Regions from separate parts of the Homo sapiens genome. Here regions 1, 2 and 3 are each linked to region 4. Evidence: promoter capture Hi-C in 16 types of primary human blood cells and fetal thymus (Javierre and others, 2016). All regions are on one chromosome and are shown on one strand. Each heading gives the region's core, a stretch centred on a gene start or on the middle of the fragment in contact. The rest is flanking DNA. Distances are from core to core; before and after follow the strand shown. Region 1 holds the start of DNAJC1 (DnaJ heat shock protein family (Hsp40) member C1). Region 2 overlaps MLLT10 (MLLT10 histone lysine methyltransferase DOT1L cofactor). Region 3 has its middle 6.4 kb from the start of COMMD3. Region 4 holds the start of ARL5B (ARF like GTPase 5B).

The links. The method cuts DNA at HindIII sites, captures the fragments that hold promoters and counts their contacts. A CHiCAGO score of 5 or more calls a contact.
Region 1: a contact is called between the fragment with the promoter of DNAJC1 here and the fragment with the promoter of ARL5B in region 4, in 1 of 17 cell types (total B cells). The highest score is 5.5, in total B cells.
Region 2: a contact is called between a fragment that was not itself captured here and the fragment with the promoter of ARL5B in region 4, in 1 of 17 cell types (total B cells). The highest score is 5.0, in total B cells.
Region 3: a contact is called between a fragment that was not itself captured here and the fragment with the promoter of ARL5B in region 4, in 1 of 17 cell types (total B cells). The highest score is 7.5, in total B cells.

Annotation. Positions count from the first base shown.
Region 1 is chr10:22,002,387-22,005,246 of GRCh38, reverse strand. It overlaps DNAJC1 (DnaJ heat shock protein family (Hsp40) member C1), which reads left to right and starts at 1,517. Exons shown (of 12, transcript NM_022365.4): 1 at 1,517-2,034. The coding sequence starts at 1,813. RefSeq lists enhancers at 1,264-1,393, 1,424-1,473, 1,353-1,853 and a silencer at 1,514-1,883. The HindIII fragment of the contact is 6,929 bases long and covers 1-2,860 here.
Region 2 is chr10:21,676,978-21,680,108 of GRCh38, reverse strand. The region is part of intron 11 of MLLT10 (MLLT10 histone lysine methyltransferase DOT1L cofactor); the gene reads right to left. Among named protein-coding and RNA genes, the nearest start is that of MLLT10, 140 kb to the right of the region's middle. The HindIII fragment of the contact is 170 bases long and covers 1,529-1,698 here.
Region 3 is chr10:22,308,443-22,311,469 of GRCh38, reverse strand. No RefSeq gene overlaps it. Among named protein-coding and RNA genes, the nearest start is that of COMMD3, 6.4 kb to the left of the region's middle. The HindIII fragment of the contact is 2,535 bases long and covers 457-2,991 here.
Region 4 is chr10:18,658,072-18,661,067 of GRCh38, reverse strand. It overlaps ARL5B (ARF like GTPase 5B), which reads right to left and starts at 1,637. Exons shown (of 6, transcript NM_178815.5): 1 at 1,385-1,637. The coding sequence starts at 1,430. It also overlaps a transcript of NSUN6 not described here. RefSeq lists a silencer at 1,469-1,548 and enhancers at 1,859-1,988, 2,689-2,808. The HindIII fragment of the contact is 6,724 bases long and covers 1-2,594 here.

The DNA.
Region 1 (2,860 bases), core at 268-2,767, 3.3 Mb before region 4:
GGCCTTAGAAAGAGGATGGGCTATCTTTAGATGGAGTAAGTCCCCGAGGTTCTCAGACAACATAAAGGTAAAACTCAAAAGGGAAATACTAGGCTGTCTGCTACAAGATCGGGGTAAGAATCCCAGATTTGTGGCAATATGGCACCAGTTTCAAAGGTTTTATTGCACTTAATCTAATGATCAAATTAGGAGAAAAGATGAATGTTACTATAATATGTAAAAGTAGTGCTTAAGATCATTAATTTCATCTTATTTCGATGTTTTGTTCATTGAATAAACAGTAACCTAATTTAGGGACTTGGTAAAGATGACGTTCACTTTAAGAAAACTGATATAACCAAAAATAAACTAGGCTGGGGGTGGTGGCTCATGCCTGTAATCCCAGCAGTTTGGGAGGCTGAGGTGGGTAGATCACATCATGTGAGGTCAGGAGTTTGAGACCAATCTGGCCTACACGGTGAAACCCCGTCTCTACTAAAAATACAAAAAATTAGCCAGGCATGGTGGCAGGAGTCTGTAATCCTAGCTACTCGGGAGGCTGAGCCAGGAGAATTGCTTGAACGTGGGAGGCAGAGGTTGCAGTGAGCCGAGATGGTGTCATTGCACTCCAGCCTGTGCAACAAGAGCAAAACTCCGTCTCTAAATAAATAAATAAATAAACTAAAAATCTGTGGTAGGGGGAATGGTGGTAGGGAGGTAGTCACAGGATTCAGTTCAACTAATTGAGTGCTCTCATGTGCTATGCATTGTGCTAAGCACACAATAATAAAGTCCACACAAGAGAATTGTGGTGGAGAAAATAACTTGAAAAGAGCTTGAACAGAAGCAATGCAAGACTAGAAGGTGAGACATTGTTATGGGAGAGGAGGTTTTTAGCCTGTCTTTTAAAACAGAAACATCTCAATTGAGGTCTGTTTTCAAAGGAACCCCAACTGGAGGTGGGCTAAGGTGGATAAACTACATTTCTCCTCCAACTATGATTGAGTCACCATTATTAACTGTTAATTCTACCAGGTCATTTTATGGTATTATGCCTGTAAATCTTAATTCATAATTAGAAGTATACTTTTTGTTTTGGTTTCAATTCCTTTTCTGCTCTACCTCTCTCTACTTACTAGATTTGCCCCTTTTAGAACCTGGTTCAACTTGTCCTGTCTTCTTTGCTGATGGACTAATTAAATGCATGGAAGCCATAATCAATTAATCAGGCTTCAAATATGCTTTTAGTGTTCGATAGCTAGGGGAGAGGAAGACAGTAGCTATTTCAGGGGAAGTCCACGTGGGGCGTTCCAGATGGACGCGAGATGGCTATAACCGTCCCTGTCTCTCAGCCCATGTGGGCGCAGGTACAGCTGCTCCGTGCGCGCCAGTGATTGAGAGGCATTTCACCCAGGCCCAGATCTGGGGCGCCAGGCGTCCAGGCTTCCGGCCACGCCCCCTTCCCGCGGTTGCTAGGAGACATGATGTCACCGGAAGCGAGGCCTGGGATAGGCTGAGGCGAAGGGAAGCCTCACCCACTGTGCAGCCCAGGCGCCGGGCGCTGCCTCTACAGCTGTGTGTAGGCCTGGGGGCGAGGGTCTTCGGAACGTAGCGCTGGCTGCGGCCCCGCCCGCCTACCCACCCGCCCGTCCGGCAGCCGGCTCCCGCCGCCTCCGCGCTCTGTCTGGGGCCAGCCACCTGGCGGGCCGCTCCGGTGCGCCTGCCCGCGCTTTTCACTGACAGGCGCTGTTCCCCACAGCCAGCGCCGCCCGCCACGTCCCAGCTCTCGGCCAACGGAGCTGCGCGGCGGGTGACCTTTCCGAGCCCAGCGCGATGACGGCTCCTTGCTCCCAGCCGGCGCAGCTTCCTGGACGCCGCCAGCTCGGGCTGGTGCCGTTCCCGCCGCCGCCGCCGCGGACGCCGCTGCTGTGGCTGCTGCTGCTGCTGCTGGCCGCCGTGGCGCCGGCGCGCGGCTGGGAGAGCGGAGACCTGGAGTTGTTTGACTTAGTGGAGGAGGTGCAGCTCAACTTCTACCAGTTCCTCGGGGTGCAGCAGGTAAGCAAGGAGGCGCGCGGGGCCGGGCGGAGAGGGGCCAGGGCAGGCGTCAGGCGACCCGGTTCCTCAGAGACAGCCGGACACGTAGGGCAGGGCTTGGTCACCCCGGGCTCTGGCTGCCCTCAGCTCGGGTCACCGGGGTCCTCAGCCTTGGAAGGACGTGTCCGTCTTCCCCAGATCTTTACTCCTGCTTCAACTTTTCTAGTCCCAGCCCCAGTGACAGGCTGGACGGCGCCACTAGCCTAGGGTGGCGATGCCTTCTCTCTGCTCCGGCGTTCTGGGGAAGAGCCTTCCCCCTCCAGCTGTGCTGGAGGAAGAACGAAGAGTGGTGTGGGTAGACTTTTTTTTTTTTTTAATTTAACACCTACCTTTTGCCTTCCTGTCCCCCTGAATGTGAGAAAGAGCAGCCGCTTCTCACCCTAAACTGTCATCTTCCACCGATACTTACCTCATCCTTATTCTTATTTCAGCTGCCTCCCCTCCTCTTCCCTTCTGGGAAAGTAGGAATGCACTGTGGCCAGTGTCTGTGTTGCAAAAGTTTTTCTTACTTTGTACTTCGTCATCTTTTTAGCCTGTTAGGTAGATGTTTGTTTCGCTTTCGCAGTTTAGAAATCTGGAGGAATTTGAAGCGTCTAACCAGGTTGGAGGTGTTAAGTTTTTTGAGCAGCAAAGGACTTGGGATGCGATTGGAAGAGAAGCCCCCGGTCAGTAATGTAGGAATGGGTTTTTTTTTCCCCTTTTCCTTTTGTTTCATTTCGTTTTCTTCTATAGCTTAAGACATTAACTTGTAAAATCCATTTGTTGCTTTTTAGTTCTACCATTGAGG
Region 2 (3,131 bases), core at 364-2,863, 3.0 Mb before region 4:
TAAAACACTAATAAAAGCAAAATCTGCTCAGAATATGAGAAATTAATTTCTATATGGCTTTCTGAGGGAAAAATAATTGATAAAACTAGGACCAAGGCTGTGACTCAAAGGACCTGGGTTTGCTAATCCTGGAAACAACTGATATTCCCTTATGGCTAACACTGTTGGCAAAAATTTTTTTAAAGGAGGGATAACTGGGAATTCCTTGGATATTATTTAACCAAAAACATAGCCCCAAAATCCAAAACTTTTTGAGTGCGCCCATGACTCTCATGCTCATTGGTGCATTTTGGATTTCAGATTTTCAGATTAGTGATGCTCACCTGGTAAGTATATATAATGCAAGTATTCCAAAATCTCCCAAAAATCTGAAATTCCAAATACTATGGTCTCAAGAATTTTTAATAAAGGTTACTCAACCTGTACTTTGAAAGGACACAGTATGCCCCAAGAAAGGAAGTGAATGCTAAACCATCAACCCCTTGCAATTTGAGTTCTTTATGCCTCGTGTTCCATTACTGGAACCTAAGCTTGTGGGAGTTATTTATATCCTACTGCTCAAGGTCATCACCAAGGTCTGATTTTTCACACACAAAAAAGCGCAACCTCCAGCATAAATGGGTTAATGAATATCAGACTTTTCTCAGAGAAAATAACAAGATGGTTTTAGTGAAGAAAAAGATGTTCTCAACTTTCACTTTAGTAAATCAAATTTTTGTAATGTGGTGAAGATAAATAGCGAAGAGGAAAGGACAGATTGTCAACTCTTCCAAAACTGTTTTTGATGTTTCAAAAGACCTCGTGCCTAACTGTTCAGAACCCAAAAAAATGTACGTAGGAAAGAGTTCAGTCAAAAAACCAACAAAACCTATAAGCCCCAAACTTAAAACTCTTAGAAATCACTTTTAGAAACACACTAATTTTCCATTTTGTACAAGTCACTATAAAACAGGCCATTTATCAGGACACACTTCAATCCATAATACAAATTTTAGAATCTGAACTCTGAATCAAACATTTTATAGGTGTTTTCTAGGCTTCTACTCTAATTTGATCTACAGTTCCCAGAAAAAATGTACTCTGCTACAATTTGAACATGTCATGAGAGAATTTTGATTACTATTAAAACTGATGCTTTTAGCCAATAATTTCAAGAGGGAATCACATTAGAACCTGACTCTACTCCTGCTTTACATCCTAGTTGTAAAGGAGAAATAACAACATCAAGAGGAGCTGTCCTATTTCACAAGGCTGTTCCAAGGATCAAATGAGAGAGTAACTAAAGAGTTCCTAAGAAACTTAAACGTACTCAAATAAGAGATTATATTAGCATTGCCAAGCTGAATGAGATAGCATTTTTTTTCTTTTCCATTAATGAAATTCTTTCATAATGGTAACTAGCCAGAATAGTTATTTTAAGAAAAAGATCATTAGCCTATCAGTTTGATTTCTTCAGTCTGGCATTAATCTCTCAATGAACCCATCCTACCCTATAAACATCACCTTCACAGTGCCACAAATACAAGCTTCCTGTTCTTATTAGGCTTTTCCCTCAAACAGACCTTTACTTTCTTTTCAGGTAATATTGGCCTTCGTCTTCTGCCTACTTCAAAGTACAATTCAACCTCTCCATGATCTTTTCCAACTTAATAATACTTTTCATCATAAACTGGCAAAATAAATACTACATGAAAAGCTTTAAAAATAGCTGGGCCCAGTGGCTCACACCTGTAATCCCAGCATTTTGCGAGGCTGAGGCAGGTGGATCATGAGGTCAAGAGATGGAGACTGTCCTGGCCAACATGGTGAAACCCTGTCTCTATTAAAAATACAAAAATTAGCTGAGTGTGGTGGCGCGCACCTGTAGTCCCAGCTACTAGGGAGGCTGAGGCAGGGGAACTGCTTTAACTCGGGAGGCAGAGGTGGCAGTGAGCTGAGATCAGGCCACTACACTCTAGCCTGGTCAATAGAGCAAGACTCCAGCTCAAAAAAGAAAAGAAAAGAAAAGAAAAGCTTTACAAATAAAGTAATATGTCTTACAGCTTAGCTATAAACACTCAGAGGGGAAGTACAAAATCATACAGCATACTTCTAACCACATGACATACACTCACGAGACAACTAATGGTATTCATTCATTTCTTAAAATAATGTTTAACGTTTACTATGTCCAAAGCACTGTGCTGGCAGTGGGGATACAGTGGTGTATGTCAGAAACAGCCCCTAGCCTCAGGAGTTAGTATTATAGTGAATGTTATAGTTTAAACAACAGGTGCTTACAAAGGTCATCTTCGACATTACTAAATTATCGACCTGTCATTCAAGAAAGTCAATCTTTTAAAAACAGCATCATGAAAAACAACTTGTGATGATGTAATACATAATACAGTTGTCTTCTGTGTCTGTGGGATTCCACATCTGGGGATTCAACACCCTTGTATAGAAAATATTTGGAGGAAAAAATTGAGTCTGTACTGAATGTGTACAGACTTTTTTTCCTGTCATGATTCCCTAAGCAATATAGTATAACAACTATTTGCATAGCATTTACATGATACTAGGTATTATAAGAAATCTAGAAAAGAATGATTTAAGTACACAGGAAGATGTGCATAGGTTATATGAAAATACTATGACGTTTTATAACAGGAACTTGAGCATCTTGGACTTGGGTATTTATTTGCAGGAGGTCCTGGAACCAAGTCCCCATGGATGCCAAAGGATGACTGTATACATTTTCTCCTTCCTACTTATTTATTATATGGGGGGAAGCTTCTTGTTGTCACAATTACTAAATGATTTCTCAATTTCAAATTAGTCCAAAGGAAAAATTAACTTTTCATACCAATAAGAAACACTATTGCTGAAAGTTAAATTATTGGTTCAAATTTGTTCAGGGATCTCTTTGCTTAAAGTATGACTGACATTACACTAGTGTGGTGTTAGACCCTCATCAGCAAACATCTGTTGAGCTGTCTAATTAAATGGCTCTGGACCCAGGGAAAATGCATATCTCCATCACTTAAAACCTAAGAGAATTCTGTCTCAGTTTCTTGTCCTATATAATGAGTAATAACACTTAATGCTTATTAACTGCTTAACACAGTGTGTGGCACATACTAAGTGTTCAT
Region 3 (3,027 bases), core at 475-2,974, 3.7 Mb before region 4:
TTTATATGAAAATTAGGAACTGGCCAATCACCTAATAAATTCCATCAAATAGACCATTTAGATAATAAGCACAGTTACCTCCTCAACAGCAGGTTGATTTTTTTTTCTGTACTAAAATTATAAACGTCACCACTTCAGTTTCCTATATCATTGATCTGGTATCAGCCAGGATGGCCCATGGCTTAGCTGTAGGAGGGTAAAGTGAAGAAGAGACATGAAACAAGTTTACATTGATGACTGTATCTAATTCTTCCATGTGTACACAGACAGTCCTTTAAATTGTTTTATATCTTTAAAAAGAGGGAGGGAAGGAGGGAAGAAGAGAGAGAAAGGGGGGAAAGAGGAAGAGGAAGGAAGAGAGAAAGGACCTGAGAAGTGTCACAGAAAGCTTATTTAGTGTTTATTTTCTGTGACACAATCCAAGATTCTTTTAGCTACAATGAATTCAACTAAGCTTCATTAGTAAGGCTTGGAAAAGACTGAAAGATCATCTGTTTTGTCCAGAATCTAATCAGTTTCAAGATGTCCTACATTTAGACTACAACAGCAGAGAATGTCTAACAGAGTCTCTTCGTTTTTTAGGTCTGGATTTGGAATCTCTGTGTTTTTTCATACCTTAGAAATTGGAGTTTGGGTTGGTTTCACGAATTCCAGCAAAAAATGGAACAAATGGGCCTATGCTGTGGGATATTATTGTTGAAAGCCAGTAACTTTTTCAAGTTTGTATTTTGAGAACATGCTTTTTACATGTTAAAATGTGTACAAATAAGTATATTTTGTTTAAGGAACTATAATTTTACAAACAAAAATGAAAACAAAAATAAAGGTTTTTGTAGATTAAAACCAAAGTAACAGTATAATTGCTTATAAACTGAAAAATGTAACTATATTCACTTGTCAAATGAAGCATTTTAGAATGGAAGTTAGTATATAAGAAGGGATGATTTGCATTAAATACATTATAAACAGTTAAGGAGACTTTACAGCTAAAGTACTTTTAACTCATTTAAAGTAAGCATTTAAACCAAAATTAATATTTCAAAAGAGCTTACATGGCAATGAAAGCCTAGATAAGTGTTTTAATATTTTTAATTGTGTACAATATTTAAAATGATACTGGTTAAGAATTTAACATTTTGGGCCGGGCGCGGTGGCTCACGCTTGTAATCCCAGCACTTTGGGAGGCCGAGGTGGGTGGATCATGAGGTCAGGAGATCGAGGCCATCCTGGCCAACATGGTGAAACGCTGTCTCTACCAAAAATACAAAAATTAGCCAGGCGTGGTGGCATGCATCTGTAATCCAGCTACTAGGGAGGCTGAGGCAGGAGAATTGCTTGAACCTGGGAGTCGGAGGTTGAGTGAGCCAAGATCGTGCCATTGCACTCCAGCCTGGCAACAGAGTGAGACTCTGTCTCAAAAAAAAAGAATTTAACTTTTCTATTATGGTTGTTATATTCAACAGAATACTGATTTTATCCCCCTTTTCAAATTAAATATAGACTTGAAGCCATTTTATGGATAAGTCAGTCTAAAAACTACATTTTTAAAAATCCTAGTAGAATAATTGTGTTCAGCTTTTTCACATTTGTTACATAGCTAGAACTATTCAGAAAATACTTTGAATTGTTTATACGTAGCTGATTTTTACACCGTGGTGAATGTTTAGAAAGTAGTTTTACAGAGTTTTGAGAAAACAAGCACCTAAAAAAATAGATTAAACTTTTCCACTGTGTTTCTTCCCATATACTCAGTTTTTCCCTGAACTTTTGTTTCATTGTTTTATTAAGGTTAAAACATAAATGTTTTTCTAACTCTCTCAAATGTTATTTTCAAAATTAATTTTCTTTGTGTAAGCATTTTAATCTATATTTTATGAAAGGGGATGGGGAGGCAAGTTTTATAAAATCTTTTTAATGTAACAAAACACCAAGAAAATAATGACTAGCAACAGGTGAAAGGGAGAATTGTATTTATATAGTCAGTTTAGTCCATGTAATTAGAAACTTGGACCTGAATTACTGGCGTAATTACTCAACTTTCTTTTCTTTTTTTCTTTTTTCTTTTTTTTTAATGCTAACAGAAATAGGCCGGATCATTTAGAGCAGCAGTATTCTAAATCAAAATTAATCAGATAATTGGCAACTTTTATTTGACTTTTAGTGCTCTATAAATTACAGACCAAAAACAGGAGAAATTTGCTAAAGAATAACAATGTAGATGGAAATATGTGGGTAAACAAGGCCCTAAGAAAACTGAATTTTCAAATGGTTTTCTTAGAATTTGAAAATGAAAGAAAATTTTAAATTAGGCCTAGCTGTGATATATAGGTGAGTAGTTGATAGATCTATAAGAAAACTTTTATTTTTGCTTAAACAATAATTAAAATGTTTATGAATTGAAATAAAAAATAGTTTTATAAGACCAAAAGTATCAATAAAGACATACATATTTTGTTTTATAAGTTTCAATAGCAATATACATTCTTCTTTATAAAGAACTTTCAACAGTGTATACTGGAAATGTTGGAAAAAAATTGATTTTGCACTTGTCAATTATAATAGAAGGAAAATAATATTCTTACATATGTTTTTATATACTTTTGAAAGTTGCCTTAAATTATTTTTGTAGCAAGATGAACATAAATAAAAATATAAAATACAGATGTTTAGAAGTCAGTTTAACCAATAATTAAAGTGCTTCTAGAAACCTAAAAGAGTGTTTTCAAACGAATACTTTTAAATTAATTTTAATTTCATTTTGGTTTTATTCTATTTCTAAAAGTTGCTATGATCAATATTTGTCTGTTTGTAGAAACTATGACATCTATGATGACAAATGTTCAAACTGAGTCATAATGATAGTCTGTTAGGTTAAAATCAAGAGTCACTACAGGAGAGTAGTCATTTTGCAAACATCCTGCCGTGTTAACAGGGGTTGGGGGAAAGCATATGTCATAAAGTAACAGACTTAAATCTTTAGCTAAGTAAGCTTTAAGTATCTGTCCATTGCTATAAATAGTATAAAGA
Region 4 (2,996 bases), core at 388-2,887:
AGACCAGCCTGCCCAACATGGCGAAACCCTGTCTCTACTAAAGATACAAAAATAGGCCGGGCGTGGTGGCGGGTGCCTGTAAATACCAGTTACTCGGGAGGCTGAGGAACAAGAATCGCTTGAACCCAGGATGCAGAGGTTGCAGTGAGCTGAGATTGCGCCACTGCACTGAAGCCTGGGCGACAGAGAAAGACTCTGCCTCAAAAAATAAATAAATAAAAATAATATTTTAAATGTATGGATAATACCCACAAAGTGTGAAGCTCTGCTCACTTTGAAATCATTTGATAAGTAATATTATCTGTGGTTACTGGATACAGGCATATACATATATATACACATGTGTGTGCCTGTATCTATATTTATAACCTTGAAAAAGACTGCTTTAGTGTTCTTATCAATCTACAGAACAAGTCAACTAAAGCCATTCCATTACCTCCACAACTTCTTAAATCCAGAAAAAGATTAGATACCTACATTAGCAGTAACAAATTGGTACCAACATAAAAGGAAATAAAACTGGCTTATTAACGATGCCCGGCTCTTAAATGTAAAATGAAACGAGTTGATTTTCAAAACTGGTTTCAATTACTAAGAAACCATTCTGTTCAAAGGACGCCTCAAACTTTAACTTATCGTCGGCCCCTTTTTTGGTCTGGGTGTTTTCTCTCTTCAGAAGACATCACATCTCATTCTGATTCAGAACAGGTTTTGCAACTTCTCGGCCCTTTGGACCTGCCACTTCCAGGTGTCTCATTACCTGTTACAGACTAATTACGGACACGTAACGTCTTACACAAAACCGAAAAGCATTTAGTTTCTGAACTAAATGCTTTAAAAAAAAAAGTTTACAATGAAGATGCTGGAAAACTCGTGCATCTGAATAGGACAACTCATTCCCAAGTCCTAGAGGAAAGGAGGCGAAATCAGAGTGAAAGTGCACTGGCTTACGGCTCAAACTGCAGGGCGGGAAAACAAAGCACCTACATTACTCAAAAAAAAAAAAGTTCTAGGTTTCTGGGCGGACACTTATCCTGGGGATACACATAGACACAAGCACGCTTCAATAAAGACGAGAAAGGCCCTCCATACGCCTCCTGGCATCATTAGCTGTATCCCGCTTTACTTCGCCAATATCCAAACATTCTCAGTTTGGATTCTGGGACGCCAAATACCTTCTCTTCTGCCTCCCTATTTCTCCCACACGTCAGGTCTCTCCTGTACGTCCTCCAGGTCTAAAACACTGAGTTTCTGCCCGCCCCCTGGCCTAAGTCCCTTCCTCCTCCGCGTCTCCGAACGCTCTGTCCCCTGTCTCCGGTGTCCCCATCGGCGGCGGGACCCTCTGCCTCGGATTCGAGCCGCCGCGCAGCTCCATTCTTCTCACCTTGGTTACAGAAGAGGCTCCACAGTTTGGCGAAGATCAGCCCCATCACGAGCACCGGGGCGGGCCGCGGGGTCCCTCGGCAGCAGGTGCCGCTGCGCCGGGTCCCCCACCGCGGCGCGGGCTGCGCGGAGCCGAGGAGAACCCGCCTGAGATCGCGCAGCGAGGGCACTGCTAGGCCGAGAAGCCTCGACCCGACCACTCAGAAGGCGCCGCGACGAATCCCCACCGGACAGCCCTTTGTTTCGAGCCCACTGAGCCCAACGCCGACCCGTAGTCCCCTCGGTCTGTACCCACCTACCTACCACAGCCTCTCCACAGCCCCAAGCCCCGCCTCCACCCCGCCTCCCCTCCGGATCCCAGGACCACCCATCGCCGGAAGCTAGGCGCGTGACGACGGCGCACTTACGGCAACCCACGCCTTCGACGTGGCGTTTTCTTCGGTTTCACTTCCGGTAGGAGAGTCCCAAACGGCCAGCGGCTGGGAATTTGCGGTATCGCGGGGGGGTGGGAAATTTCCCTTGGTGCGTGCTCCTTCTGATGTCAGCCTTCAAAACGTTTGTGGGACTCCCCTTTGATTTGAGTCTCTGCTGCTAGCAGCTGCTTCCCTGACCTCTAAAACCAGGAAAGACCATAGGTTCTCTAAGTGAGCAGCCGCCGTTTGCTGCTCTTAGAAAACTCACAGAAGTGAAGAGTGTTTCTTTCCTGACTTATTCCTGTTCCCCTAGGCAGGCGTGCTAGGGGTTAGGAGTTCTGCCGTGATTCTTCTTCATTCATTTATTAATCTATTCATTCACGTATTCATTCATTGGCTTATGCATTTATGTACTCATTGATTGATTGATCGATTGCAGACGAGGTCGGGCTGTGTTGCCCAGGGGGACTCAATTTCCTGGGCTCAAGCGATCTTCCTGCCTCGACTTCCCAAAGTGGTGGGATTGCAGGCTCAGCCACCGCGCCCGGCCCCTGTCGTGATTCTTAGTTCTGAAAAGAATTGATTGGGAGACGAGCCATGGAAGGCCTGGAGCCACAGAGTTCAGTTATGTGATTAATAATAACACATAATAATAACACATAGCACCCCTCTCCATTTTGCCAAGCATTAGGTATGTTCGTGGATCCCAGATCGAAGTCCACGCATAAGCCAATTCGCTGTGTAATTGTTTTCAATTCCACTTTCCATGGTTAGGTTCTAGCATTGAAAAGAAAAGCTTCACAGCCTGGCATGAAACGAAACTGAATGTCCTTGAAACCAGTTGACGGAGGAGCAAGCTTAAAATTTTTTTAGACTCTGACTTCAGTCAGATGGTTGGATTTTAACCTTGGCAACGTGGCCTTTTAACATGCCAAACTCTTGAGTTAACCTGTACAAGGAGAATGTATGACTTACGTCCTCCCAGTGCTATGGTTTAAAGACCCTTTAAGACTTAGATGCAGGATAATATGCTCCAACGTTACAACATTAAAGGCAAGTTTCAACCTCCTATGTAGAGGAAAAAGAATGTACTGACCCTATGCAAACTTAACTTTCATGACTATCAGTTGGACCATAAATGTGAATAATTTTGTGTTTGTGTAAGTAATGGCTTAAAAGGACATTTTTAGTCCTAGCTTC